Linked DNA regions of Homo sapiens: region 2 is linked to region 1. Evidence: promoter capture Hi-C in 16 types of primary human blood cells and fetal thymus (Javierre and others, 2016). All regions are on one chromosome and are shown on one strand. The core of a region is centred on a gene start or on the middle of the fragment in contact, and the rest is flanking DNA. Distances in the headings are between cores, read along the strand shown. Region 1 holds the start of RAI1 (retinoic acid induced 1). Region 2 overlaps RAI1 (retinoic acid induced 1).

Evidence for each region. The method cuts DNA at HindIII sites, captures the fragments that hold promoters and counts their contacts. A CHiCAGO score of 5 or more calls a contact.
Region 2: a fragment that was not itself captured here is called in contact with the fragment with the promoter of RAI1 in region 1 in 4 of 17 cell types (endothelial precursors, megakaryocytes, naive CD4 T cells and 1 more); the score reaches 8.3 in endothelial precursors.

The regions. Positions count from the first base shown.
Region 1 is chr17:17,677,714-17,684,596 of GRCh38, reverse strand. It overlaps RAI1 (retinoic acid induced 1), which reads right to left and starts at 3,139. Exons shown (of 6, transcript NM_030665.4): 1 at 2,804-3,139. RefSeq lists silencers at 1,479-2,428, 2,415-2,587, 2,599-2,678, 2,739-2,878, 2,909-3,418 and an enhancer at 2,497-3,098. The HindIII fragment of the contact is 10,976 bases long and covers 1-4,749 here.
Region 2 is chr17:17,790,959-17,797,841 of GRCh38, reverse strand. It overlaps RAI1 (retinoic acid induced 1), which reads right to left. Exons shown (of 6, transcript NM_030665.4): 3 at 1-4,909. The coding sequence starts at 4,893. Among named protein-coding and RNA genes, the nearest start is that of SMCR5, 15 kb to the right of the region's middle. RefSeq lists enhancers at 3,383-4,107, 4,108-4,834. The HindIII fragment of the contact is 1,117 bases long and covers 1,906-3,022 here.

The DNA.
Region 1 (6,883 bases), core at 1,890-4,389:
AAGGGAACTTTTACTTTTACTACATATATTTCTGGCTTATTTGCATTTTTCACCCAAGTATCCAAGTGTTACTTGAGTAGTTTAACATGAGAGGAATTATTAGGGTTGCAATTAACATTTGTTGCATGAATAGATGGCAAATTCATTTCCTAGGCTTGTTTTTTTCAAATTCTGGGTATGACCCATCAGTGGATTGCAAAATTAATTTCGTGGGTAGCAATCAGTAATTAAAAAAAAAACAAATACACAAGAACAAAAAGGATTACAGACCAGCAGACACAGTAAGGGAGTTATTTCAGTAAACTTTTGTTTCAGCTATATACAGTGTGACCTGTGTAGTTACCTACGATGTATTTCTTACTATAGGTCACGGGCAAGAATTTGAAAGCAATTGGTCTAGGCTTGGGAGTCTAAAGAGGAGTAAGGCTGGGTGCAGTGACTCACTCCTGTAATCCCAGCACTTTGGGAGGCCAAAGAGGGAGGATCGCTTGAGCCCAGGACTTCAAGACCAGCCATGGCAAGACCCCTGTCTCTAGAAAAAAAAAAAAATTTAAAATTAGCTACGTGTGGTGTCGGGCGCCTGTGATCCCAGCTACTCAGGAGACTGATGCTGGAGGATCGCTTGAGCCCTGGAGGTTGAGGCTGAAGTGAGCTGTGTTTGTGCCAAGGCACTCCAGCCTGGGCCACACAGCAAGACCCTGTCTCAAAAATAAAACAAAGAGGAGTAAGACAGGGTCCCTGCCTATGAGAGCCCCACAGTCTAGTGGAAGAGAAAGGCAGCTCCAGTACCCCTGAGTTCCCTTTATCTCCACAGAAGCCAGAGGGATGCTAGGCTGGTGGGAAAGGTCCTATTTTGCCCACTCCACAGTTGGCTTCTGGGGCCTGGATCTCACCTTGATACATTCTCCTCCTCTCCAAGGCTTTTGCTTGTGAGAGCTTTTGCCAGAGTTATGGGGCTGAGCCTGCCCTGAGATCAGAATGATGTGTCCACTTCTGTGTCACGCAAAAGGCCACTTTTCCTTGCTCCTGGGCCCCGAATATACCGGCTTGCCTGTCAAGAGGGGGAGGGGTGGGAAACTAGAAGATTCCTTTCCAGTTTCTAGATCCCGAGGGCCACGTCCCAGGAAAGCCTCTGAAAACCCAGCTGTGTGGTCAGCAGGGAGGGGCCACCATTCAGTCTGCAGCGAGGGCTGCCCCCCACCTGGGGTGGGCCTGACCCTGAGCAGAGCGAGGACTGTATGGAGAATGGAGGGGGGCAGGGGCAGGAAGAGAAGCAGAGCCCCCAGCTCGGGGCTCCCATCACGCTGGCGCCTCCACATCAGAGCTAGCCTAACCCACCCCCGCCTCTCCTCCCAGGGCAGCAGACAACTAAAAAAAGATAAAATAAAAAGAAGTAATTCCCCTGCTCTGACGTCAGCGCGAGGTCTTAACAGCCCGGCAGCGGCATGAAACTGGATTGCAACCAGATGTAATGCCCTTGAATTCTCAACACACTACTGCATTGGAAAGACATAAAAGGGGGGCGGGGGACAGTATTGGTGGGAGGAACCGTGCAGATCCCGAGTGGGTCCCTGAATCCGGGCCCGCCGAAACCGCGGGGAAGGCGGCGCGGGAGAGTGTGCGGCGCGCGGAGCAGCGCCCGGCCGGCTCCGCCATTCAGGCGCGCGGCCTCCCCTCCCCCAGCCCCCACCGGCGCATTGTTACACTCGCTCCCATCCATTCAGAGCCCGAGGCCCGCCGCGCCCCCGCCAGCCCGGGCTCCGCGCAGGAGAGCACCGCGGCAGCCCGCACTCCGGCCCCTGCGTGGACTGGATAACGACCAAGAGCCCCAAGAAAGAAAACTGCTAGCCGGGAAAACGGGCGCCCCAGGAAGCTGGGGCCGCGACGGCCTAGGGCCTGGCTGGTGTTTCGCTTCCCCTCCGCCCCACCACGGAGGCCCCTGGCGCGACCAGGCTCCAAATGTCACCCTCGCGTCCTGCCACCCCTTGTCCCCGCCGCACTCGGCCCCCATGTCCTCCTCCCGGGTTCCCTGCCTTCAAGGCGCGTGAGAGGGGGGGCCGGCCTCGAAAAGGGCGGCGGGCTGCGCCGCCGTCTGTGGGGCGCAAGGCTCGCGTGTCCGGGGCCCCCGCCCGTGACGTCATCCCCGAAGGGCCCGTGCCTCCCGGGCCTGGCCGCTACAGAGCTCCCCAGGTCGCGGGGGCCGCTTCCTGCCCGGCCTCGGGGCCTGCGCACAGGCCCCGGGGCCGCTGCCCGGGTAGGGACACCGCAGAGAGCCCGAGCACCCATCTCGCCACGCACGGCCTTCGCCGGCCCTGACTCCCAAGCGATGGCCACGCCGGGCCCGGGTCACGCATGGGGAAGTCAGCTCCCCGTCCCCCACCTCGGACGCACTCACAAAGCTCACCTCCGCCCCCGGCGCCCCGCGAATGCACCCCACGTCCCCACCCCACGCTCCGCAAAGACTCCGCGCCTCGGCGCAAGCAGATCCCTTGCCACACTCGCCCCTCGCGCCCCCATGCCCCCACCCGACCTCAGCTGGCCGCACATCCCCCAGAAGACCCTCAGCCGCGGCGCAGGGCGCCCCCACCCTGCAGCTCCCCAGACGTCCATCCGGTGACCTCGCGCACCCCCCACACCACACAAAGCAAGGACCCCGCGGACCCCACATCTCCACCCAGCGCGCGCGCTCGGCGTCCGAACCCGCCTCGGCTCATCACCCGGCCTAGGATCCCGACGCCTCGCGCCGCCCCCGCCCCGGGGCAGGATACACTGCGCCCCCCGCGCCCCGGCGCTCGCTGCTCACCTCGGCGCCCGCGCTCACTCGGGGGCCTTGGGTCTGGCGCTGCGACTTCGCGGCCCGGAGGCCTGGGTGGCCATGGGGGTCGGGGCGCGGCGGCCCGGCCGGCCCGCGGCCAGGCAGGAAGGAGGGTGGGCCGCGGCGCCCCCTCCTCGCGCCGGCGCTAGGGCCGCGGGCAGGGCGGCCTGCTCGGCTCGCCTCTCGCCCTCGCTGCACTCGCTCTCCCACTCGTCTCTCGGAGCCCAGCCGCGGGCGGGGGCGGCGCCCGGGGACGCGGGGAGCGGGCCTTGGCCGCGCACCCGGCCGGGCCTGCCTGGTGTCCGCGGGTGCCGCGAGGAATGCGATCCCCTCCGCACAGGAAGAGCGGACGAGCGGACGGGCGGGCGGGCGACGCGCGGGGGGAGAAGGAGAGCAAGAGCGCGAGGAAAAAAGTTCCCGGGCGGCCTGGCTGCGCTCGCTCGCGGCCCCGGGCGCCAGGTGGGCCGTGCGCGCCCCGACAGCACCCCCTGGCGGTCCGCGCGCCCCACTGCGCGCCCCCCGCCCGCTGGCCGGCCTGCGGGAGGGGGCCTCTGCGGTGGGATCCCGGTGCGGCCTGGGAGGACACTAGCGCCCTGCGTACAGGAGCTTCCAGCGTCAGGCCAGGCCCCCACCCTCACCCCACCATTAGCCCTCACCTGTGCCCACTTCTTTGCAGTTTGAGAAACATTTTCGATTTCAAAACTCCATTGGCTTCATGTAAACTTCATTTACTGGGCACCTGGCACCTTGCTGAGTCTTGAGGAATCAGCAGAGACAATGCGGTCCCTGCTGTCGTGGAGCTGGCATCCTGGTGGGAAGAGACAGACAGCAAACAAATGCTTAGATACATGACGAAGATAATTTTAGAGCAGTAAGTGCTAGGACGAAAATTAGCAGGTGAAGTGACGGCTAGGGCTCCTTGGCTGGGGGAGAGAGAAGGAGGCCTGTCTGTGCAAAGATCTAAATAGCAAGAGGAACCGCCATGGGTAGAGTCTGGGAAGAGCATTTTGTTCTTTTAGAGGCAGGGTCTTGCTGTGTTGCCCAGGCCGAACTTGAATTCCTGGCCTCAAACAGTCCTCCCACCTCAGCCTTCTGAGTAGCTGGGACTACAGGGGCCTGCCCTCCTGGGAAGAGCATCATTGGCAGAAAGAACATCAAGTGCAAAGGTCCTGAGGCAGGAGAGAACTTGGTGAGTAAGTGGAATTGTGAGGAGGCCGTCAGCAAGGGGACAAGTAATGGGCACATTGAAGTCAGAGCCATATCGGGAGGGCCAGAGCCTGCAGGGCTGCAGAGAGCTCAGTGAGGAATTTGTTTGCAATTCTAGTGCAAGGAAGGTAGCCACTGGCAGACTTTAAACAGAGGCATGTTGAATGAGAGAGTCCTTGCATGAAACTTAAGGTACAGACCTCGGAGCAATTTCATGCCTAGGTCTCTACTTGCCATAGCTCAGGTGGGAGCTCACTGCCACCTGCTTGGGAAGCCTCTCAGCCCCACCCAGGCTCTAGGGTCTGTGGGATATGACCCCATTAACAGCCCCATCGAAGCCTCCCTCATTTGTCCTTTGGTAGGGCAGAGGGGAGCTGGTCAAGGCATCAGAGCTTGTGGGTGACCTGGGACAAGTGAATCCTGCATCTGCAAAATAAGGTATTGTGATAGATGGGGGGCCCTCACTCTGTCCCAGGCCTGCTGTGCCCCTTCTGTGCATGGTCTCATTAGATCCTGGTGCCCCCTCTGTGAGGTCGGCTCATCACATTTTGTGGATGAGGAAACAGGCGCAGAGTGGTGAAGTCCCCTGTCCAGGTTCTCAAGCTACAGGACAGAATCAACACAGGTCCCCACAGTCCTTCCTACTGGACTTGGCTACCCGTCTCCCAGGGTGAATGTCAAGAGCAAGACAGAGCTGGATCCCAGTGCGAACTGTGTTGTTTTAAGCTTGTTTTAAGTGCGGTTTCTGGATGACAGATCTGGTTTATTTTTATTTATTTATTTATGTATTTTTTTTTTGAGACGGAGTTTTGCCCCTGTTGCCCTGCCTGGAGTGCAATGGTGCGATCTTGGCTCACCACAACCTCTGCCTCCCAGATTCAAGCAATTCTCCTGCCTCAGCCTCCCGAGTAGCTGGGATTACAGACATGCACCGCCACACCCACCTAATTTTGTATTTTTAGTAGAGACAGGGTTTCTCCATGTTGGTCAAGCTGATCTTGAACTCCTGACCTCAGGTGATCCACCTGCCTCGGACTCCCAAAGTGCTGAGATTTCAGACATGAGCTACCGCGCCTGGCAAATCTGGTTTCTAAACGTGGCTCCTCTATGCCCAGCTGGGTGGCTTTGGGCAAACTACTTAACTTGCTGAGCCTCCGTTTCCTCATCTGTAGAATGGGGATAATAGTACCTACCTCATGGGTCTGTTGAGAGGATTGAATGAGGTACGTGTGGAAAGCATTTAGCTCACAGCCTGGCATGCAGTAAGTGCTATTACTGCTTTAAGATGCTAGATTAATGGGAACAGTCCCTATCATCCATCCAGGGCTCCCAATCTCCACCCCGAGCTGGTCTCCTGCCCTCCCTGCCTTACCTTAACCTGCTCCTGAGTGGAGCCTAAGGGAAGGCTGGTTCTAGGGACCCCAGTGGGAGGCAAGACAAGGAGGTCTTGCTGGGAGATTTCTGGTTCCCACACAAGGGTCCCCAAGACTAGCTTCTCCACCTGGAGAGGGTGGGAGACCAGCTGGAACCCCAAGGAGAGTCAATTTTCTGGCCTTGGAATTAGGTATTTTTTGTTTTGAAAATTCCTTGGTATCAAGTTTACATGACTGGGGCCACTGGACCCTGTAGGCAGGGCTGGGGGTACAAAGAGGATCACAAGCCTGGCCTCTTTGGGAGCCATAGCTCAGGCACCACTCAAGGAAGCACATTTGTTCAAGGGATTAGCATTTCTGGATGTCAGTTCAGCGAAGGGTTGGAGGAGGTGGCGATTGAGGCAGACCTCAGAGGATGGGCAGGAAGGGAGCCCTGGGTTGCAAAGGGGATGGGTGTCCCAGAGAGTGAGAGGAGGAAGGAATATGCAGGCAGATGGAAGAGGGTGTGCGGTCAAGGTACTAACAACTGCTTTTGTGTGTGAGTGTGAATGTGTGTATATGTGTGTGTAAGACAGAGTCTCACTCTGTTGCCCAGGCTGGAGTGCAATGGTGTGATCATAGCTGACTGCAGCCTCAAACTCCTGAACTCAAGCAGTTCTCCCACCTCAGCCCCCTGAGTAACTGGGACCACAGGCATACACCACTATGCCTAGCCAATTTATTTTTTATAGAGATGGCATCTTGCTATGTTGCCCAGGCTGGTCTTGAATTCTGGGCTCAAGTGATCCTCCTGCCTTGGCCTCCCAAAGTGCTGGAATTACAAGTGTGAGCCACCACGCCTGACCAGAACTGCCACTTTTGAGTACCTACTGTGTGCCAGGTGCCTAGGGATGTTGTAACAAATTCCACAAGTGGCTTAAAATAACACAAATTAATTAATTAATTAATTTATTTATTTATTTATTTATTTATTTATGACAGAGTCTTGCTCTGTTGCCCAGGCTTGAGTGCAGTGGCGCAATCTTGGCTCACTGTAACCTCTGCCTCTCGGGTTCAAGTGATTCTCGTGCCTCTGCCTTCCAAGTAGCTGAGACCACAGGCACATACCACACCACCAAGCCTAGCTAATTTTTGTATTTTTTGTGGAGAGTGGGTTTCACCATGTTGCCCAGCCTAGACAGATTTATTCTTTACAGTTCTGGAGGTCAGAACTCCAAAATCAGTTTCACTGGGCTAAAGCCAAGGTGTGGGCTGGGCTAGCTCTCCTGGTGCCTCCAGGAGAGAATCTCTTCCTTGCCTTTTCCAATTTCTGGAGGTTGCCTGTGTTTCTCAGCTTGTGACCCCTTGGTGACCTCCAGAAGCTAGAACAGGCAAGAAAACAATTGCTTCCATTGTCCCAGCTTCTACTTCCTCCCTTGACCTTCCTGCCTCTGCTCATGAGGACCCTTGTGATTCCATTCCGGTCCACCTGGATAATCCAGGCTAATCC
Region 2 (6,883 bases), core at 1,215-3,714, 110 kb before region 1:
GGCAGAGGAGGAAGGCTTCCTGTGGGGCTTGGGCGCATCTCCAGGGGAGTTGACAACAGTGCATATGGTGGTGAACGCGTCTCGCTTCTCCACCCGCACGAAGGGTGAGAAGGCGGGGGTCCGGCTGTCTGACCTCAGCCGCTTGCAAGAGGAAATGTACTTGAGGCGGATTTCAGGCTCTGCGGGATCCAGGGGCAGCACCTGCTGCTGTCGTCGTCGCTTGGCACGCCCCTTACAGGGTGAAGAGGTGGTGTTCTTGGCCCGGCCCCGAGTGAGGCGCTTCCGCTTGGAATAGCTGCTGTAGTTGGTGTGGCCTGGCTGTTTCTGTGCCCTTGTCTGGGGCTGGCAGGGCCTGCCCTCCGGGGGCTGGGAGGCCAGGCCCAGCTCCTCCATCTTTGGCTTCTTGCCTCCTCCACCAGAGTTGTCCTCACTGGCCCCTTGTGTGCCACTGGCCCTGTCTCGGGGAGTCAGGAGCAGAGCCGGGCCAAGATAGGGCCGCTTCTCCAGCGGGCCTTTGGAGAGTCCATGGGCCCCTGCCCGGCCTTTCCGGCTCCTCTTCTTAGGCGCCAGGGCAGTCCCCCCAGGCTGCAGGGCCTCCGGGGATGTGAAGGCCTCGGTTTTGAAACAGTCAGTAGAAGACAGTTTCTTACTGTTCATGAGTTTGCCTTTTAAGGATCTGTTGGTTGGATTTCTGCATAACGGATCAGCCCCAGAAGTTGGGAGCTTCTGCCCGGTGCCCACATTTACCAGGCCTTCTTCCACCCCCACTGGGCTGCCCCCAGCACCCTTGAGCCCACGGTCTTTGTCGGAAAGGGATGGGCTCAGAGGATTACCAGGAGAGGCCCCTGGCGCTTTACATGCGAACTTCTTGAGGCTGGGCGAGGTGATCTTCTGCACGATGGCTTCCAGCTTCAGGCCCCGGCCCTTCCGGGGTGGCAGCACCTTGGTCTTCATGGCCCCCTGGAAGGCTGCCCGAGAGGCGAGCTTGAGGCAGGCATCGGGGGTCTCCGGGGGTGGGAGCTTTGTGGCAGGCTCGCCATTGCCCTTGGTGGGCTTGGCTTTCTTGGGAGAAGACATCCTCTTGAAGAGGGTGGGGGAACCCTCAGGCCTCTCCTCCTTCCCATCTCCCCCATTGCCACTGGCGTTGCTGCTGCTGCTGCTGCGGCTCCGCAAGACCAGGTTCCGCTTCTTGGTGGGGACCGGCGCCATGAAGGCCGACTTCCTTTTGAGCGCATGGAGGGGCCGGTCAGAGAGCTTGCTGCCTGCACCAGGTTTGGGGACCCTTGCCCGCTGGCTCACCCTGCCCTCCTTCTGGGGGCTGCTGGAGACCTTGAATGTGGCGGGCAAGTGGCTGTTGTCGAGGAGCTTCTTGGTGGCACGGCAGTTGGGGAGCCGGCCCTCAGAGGGCCTCCGCCGCTTGGAGTGGAAGATCTCCTGGGTTTTGGTGCGTGACCGAAGGATCATGGAGCGCTGGTCCTTGCCAGGCGTGCTGGGTGAGTCTGTCTCCTTGGTCTTGGAGCCCATCGGGCTGCTGTCGGAGGCCACAGGCAGGGCGGCCGGGTTGCTGGGGCTGGAGGCAGCCTTGGGTGAGGGCTTCCCCACCCGCTTGCCCGACTTGAAGGCGGCTCGCTGCTTGCCCCCCAGTTTGTCTGGGGGTGCAGGGGTGGTGGTCAGGCCTGGGGGTCCGGGCGTGCGGGGCTCACTCAGGGCCGTGAGAGAACGAGTACACATCCTGGGGAGCCCTTCCGAGGCCCCCCGGCCTGGGGCTCCAGCCCCTTCCATCTGTCCCTGGGGGGGCCCTGTGCAGGATTCAGGGAGCAAGAGGTCTTTGGGCAGCACTGGTGCCCTGCATGGGGAGTCCTCGGCCTCGGGCAGCCCCCGGTGCACCCGACGGCTCCGTAAGCTTTTGCCCCGTGGCACAGGCTCTTTCTTTGCGATGGGCGCCTCGGGCACAGCAGGCTTGTTGGGCTTCTGGGCCAGAGAGGCGTCCGAGGTGGTGGAATCCCCTGGAGCTCGCTCCCCATCAGGCCCCTCTTCACCTGGCTTCATGTGTGACAGAGAGGACTCAAACCAGCTCTGGACCTTTGACTCGGTGCCCACTGTAGGGCCCAGCAGGATGACGGACTCCCCTGAGAGGTGGCACGGAGAGCCCCAGCCGGCCTTGGAGTCCAGCACCTCCTCCACCTCCTCCTTGGTGCAGATGAGTGGGGCCTTGGGTGACAGCGGGTCCTGCATGCCAGGCCTCTGCTCGGGGCTGCCCAGGAGCTCACATAGGGAGGAGTACTCCTCCTCAGCTTCCAGGTCCTCCTTCCTGCTGGTGGGTGGCAGCAGTGGGAGGTCCCCGAAGTCGGCGGTGGAACAGCAGTGCCGGCTGTCCTCCAGCCACCGGTCAGCCTTGGCCACCTCGGGGCACTGCAGCAGCCCACCTGCCTCCTCCTTCACCCCACCCACCTCCTCCTGCTTGAAGTCCCCGGGCAACGAGGCCACCTTCTCCCCAGGGGGGTCCTCCTCCTGGAAGCCCAGGCAGGCCGAAGCCTCATGGGTGTCCCCTTTGCTGATGCCATCTGAGGCCTTCCCACCCTGCTCCAGGCCCTTGGTAAGCTCGCCAGGGTGCAATCCCCACCTGGGACAAGCATCCCCCAGGTTTTCCTCTGGCCAGGCAAAGGGGTTGGCGCTGTCCGCTGAGCTGGCAGCGGTTGTGTCCGGGAAACAGTCAAAAGCTGCTGTAGTGGGGTCTGGAGCAGGAACCCCAAGGGTGGGCTTGGTACCAAAGGAGAGAGGACCAGTTGTCTTTTTGGGGTCAGGCGTAGCGAAGGCCACGGAAGGGTCTTCAAACAGCCCTGGGCTGAAGTCCTTGGCATTGCCGCCCTTGTCCAGCTGCAAGGAGTCGGGCAGGGCCTCCGGCTCCCCAGGCCGGGGCCACGCACTCTTGGCCACAGAGTCCAGGCAGGCGCTGTGGTTCTCCAGCGAGAAGGGTGGCTTGCTGCTGTCCTTGACCAGGCTGGGTGCTTCAGCCCAAGCTTTGTCGGCCTTCTCACCGATGGCTTCCTGCAGCCCCAGGATCTCGGAGGCCAGGTCCTCCTGTGCCAGGGCGCTGAGCAGCAGCCGCGGACAGTCCCGCTCACCCGCCACGAACTTGGAGAAGCTGTCGAGCGGCAGACTGCCGTGTAGGCTCTGGAAGGAGTCGTCAGATTTGGTGGACATGTCGTCAGGAGAGGTCACAGAACAGGTGGACACGGACTCGGGCTTGGCCTTCGAGTTGCTGTTGACCCTGGCAGGGCTGCCACGGGCCTGGTTGCAGTAGAGGAAGCTGCGCTCCAGTGGGTCCTCGGAGCCGCTCAGGTAGTCGGCCTCCTGCGGCTCCGCATGCGTGGACTGTGGCGTGCTGCTCGGCGGCTCTGACAGCGGTGTGCCTGCGGGCTCGGCTGAGTAGCCGCTCCCTTCGGGGCTGCAGTGCTGGCTTTTATGCTGCTCTGGGGTCCTGGACACGAGGTTCTTGACACCTTTCTTCTGCGGCACAGCAGCCTTGGAGAGCAGCAGCTGCTGGACGGTGTTGGAGATGTTCTCCACCTGTGAGGTCAGCGCCGTGAGGCTCTGCAGGCTGAGATCCGACAGCAGGTTCTCAGGGAGCTTGTCCTTCTGAAGGGGCTTGCAGTTGCCAGCCTGGGTGTCCACAGAGCTGGTGGCATCCGTTGGGGAGGGATTGAGCAGGGGCATGAAGTGGCTGTGGTCAGTGATCCCTGCGGGGAAGGCCCCGGTGCTGAGCGGCTGCTGGCTGTAGGGAAAGTTCTCCAGGTTTGGCATCAGCGGCGACGGTGTGGAACTGTAGGAAGGTGAGCGGCCCACGGAGCGGGCGGGTGAGTGGCTGGAGCTGGGGCTGAAGGTCTGGTAGTACTGCTCTGGGGTCCGGACGGCTGCGTCCGGCTGGCAGTAGCCCTGGCCTTGCTGCCCGTAGTGCTGATACTTGGCGAGGTTTTGGTAATGGAGGGTTTCCTGGGCATGGTGCCGGCTCTGAAGGGCTTGCTGCTGCTGCTGCTGCTGCTGCTGCTGCTGCTGCTGCTGGTCATAGCTGAGGCGGCCCGACTGGTAGGCATGAAGATTCTGGACCCGCTGCCCCGGGGCCAGGCTGGAGCTGGCAGTCAGCGGCCTGTCATGGGGCTGGGCAGTCGGTGCTGTGCAACTCTTATAGGAGTGGGCCCCCTGCCCACCACCCTGGACAGAGGAGGAGTAGGTGGAGGAGGTGGGGAAGGACTGGGAATGCTGAGGAAAGTGGGTACCCTGGGGGAAGGGCAGAGGGGAGGCAATGTCGTTCTGCAGCTTCTGCCTTTGGAGCTTGGGGTATGCCAGGGGCTGCTGGGGCGGCGGTGGCTGCTGGACGTGCAGGGAGTGAGTCCGAAAGGGCACCTGGGCGCCCTGCTCTGCATACTGCCTGCTGGGGGGCACTGCTGTCTTTTTCATCAAGTTCTCATCATACTTGGCCACCCCTGCAGGTAGTGGCTGCGGCTGTGGGGGTGGTGGCTGTGGGGCCCCCCAAGCCTGAAGGCTCTCCTCACCAGCATAGCGGCCTGGGTAGGGGCTGCTGTCCTGGACGCCGTAGCCAGGGAAAGCCGGCCTCCCCTGCAGGCCTTGCTGTGTGGGCAGGGCCTTGCTGCCTCGGTGGTACTTGTCGGCGGCCACCGCGGCTGCAGTGCCAGAGGGCGTGCCAGCGCCACCCTCATAGCTCGGGTAAGGCTGCGGGTTATAATAGTCCTTGGCGAGCAGCCGCTGCCGGTCGCAGCTTAGCCCGGCCTGACTCGGCTGCCTGTAATTCTCTAGGCGTGATGTTTCCTGCGAGGTCTGCTGGTAGTTCTGTTGTTTGCCATGGAAACCACACCTTTCTCGAAAAGACTGCATGACTCGGGCTGGTTATCTGTGAAAAGAAAAAGGAAGGGAGGGAGGGAGGGAAGGAGGGAGGGGAGGATGGGCAGGGAGGGGGCAGAGGATGAGCGATTCAGACGGGCCACTTCCTTTTGCCTCAGAAAGCACCCTCCCACCCACCTCCCCACCCTGCCTGCTCCCCCGCGCAGCTCTTAATAGTCCCCCCTTCGCCTGAGCCTCCCCACCAGCTGTGCGCATATTGACAACTTCTGTGTCAGGGAGGTGTGCTCTGTAATTCCCGCTCCCACATCGCCTGCAGCTGAGTCTTGCCAAGGACGGCCACTGATGCGGGAGGCAAAACCGGCTGCCCAGCGCCAGGTCACTGGGGAGCTACCCGCCCCCCCCCCGCCCATTGCCAGCTCCTCCCCAATGTCCCCCACCCATCACTCCCAGCCCTTCCTGACAGCTCAAAAGCATTTAGCAGAGCAATTCCCGCTCCCTCATCCCCTGGGGCCTGCTGGATCCTGTAATTTAGTCCCTTCGCGACCGTGTTCAAGCATGACCCAGCCATGCTGGGGACTGAGGAGGGTCTGCCCCTGTCCCCACGCACATGCGTGCACACAAGCATATGTATGCTCACACACACACGCGCGCACACACACACACACGCATGCACACACACACCTCCTCTATCACTGCCACGCCATCTGGAATCTGTCTGTTCCTTCTAGCAGACATCGATTAGGGGCTGCCAAGCCACTGTAGACATAAAATGTCCCCTCCTCTGACTCCCAGGAACGCAAGACGGCAGCACCTGCCTCCTGTTTTTGATATCATACGTGCATAAACAGATTACGTGGCCCAGAGTGAGGGAGTGCATACTAATGGGAGTAGAGATGCAGTCCCAGGGCCACGGCCACGGAAGGGCACAGCCCAGCCCCACCCACATGGGGCGACACAGCCCTGTCCCCTCCTGGCCAGTTCCTCCCCACCTCAGCAGGTGAGGGCTGGGGCAGGCAACACTCAAGAGCCCATCTGGTTATGATTTTAGGGGATGGGGCTCAGGCAGGGGTCTAACCTGCCCCTGCCTGCAGAGCAGAATCCTGGGTCAGGAAAGGACCCAGGGTGGGTTGCGGGAGCCTCTCAGAGCAGAGCATCTGACAGCCCAGCATCCAGGGTAAAGGTTCCTCCAGCTGACTCGCTGGCCTGGCCAACCAGAAGACCCCTCAAAGAGGGATGGAAGAAAGAGGAATGCCCCAGGTTTTGGAGGAAGTGCATGGAGGGGCTGGCCATTGGCCGAGTCCCAGAGGGTTTGGGATTTACCCAGAACCATGCTGGCCCGGAGGCAGGAAGAAAGGGGCTCAGCTCGGCCTGTGTGGCCCAGGCCCCCAGGAGGGGATAGGGGACTTTCCAGTGCTGGTTCCCAAATGCTCCAAAAGGAAGGGGTGGCTTGCCTCAGGCTACAAAGATTCCAGGTTGTTGAAGGGGTCAGGAAGGGACAAAGAGAGGGGGAGAGGGGCACAGAGAGGGAGAGGCACGCAGAGTCGGGGAGGGGCACAGGGAAGAGGCAGAAAGGTGGGGAGTGGGGGAGAGCTGGGGGTGCTGCTCCATTTACCCTTCTTCCTTGGCCCGGACCCCACCACAAGTGCCTTCCTCATTTAGTGTCTGGGGATGGATGCAGGGAAGGCGACAGAGGGCCTCCATCTGCCTGAGAGCAGGGCAAGCCCAGGGCAGCCAGATGGCCCCCAGAAGCCCGTCAGCCCAGTCCTGGGACCACCTCTCCTGCTCTCTGGAGTCAGCTTGCCCTGGCCCACAAATGCAGGAGAGTCAGCCCAGTGTGGGGGCCGGCCACTTTCCCACGAGGCGAGCCCCTGCCCACCGGCTTATCAAAGCCGCTTTCCCTCTGCTCCAGCTCCTCTCCCTGGATTTGTCGCAGGCATCCCTAACAAGCAGCGTGCCCACCCTTCTGACCCACTTCAATCCTACCCCTGGCAGCTTGGATAAAACATTACAGGAGGTTCCTGCT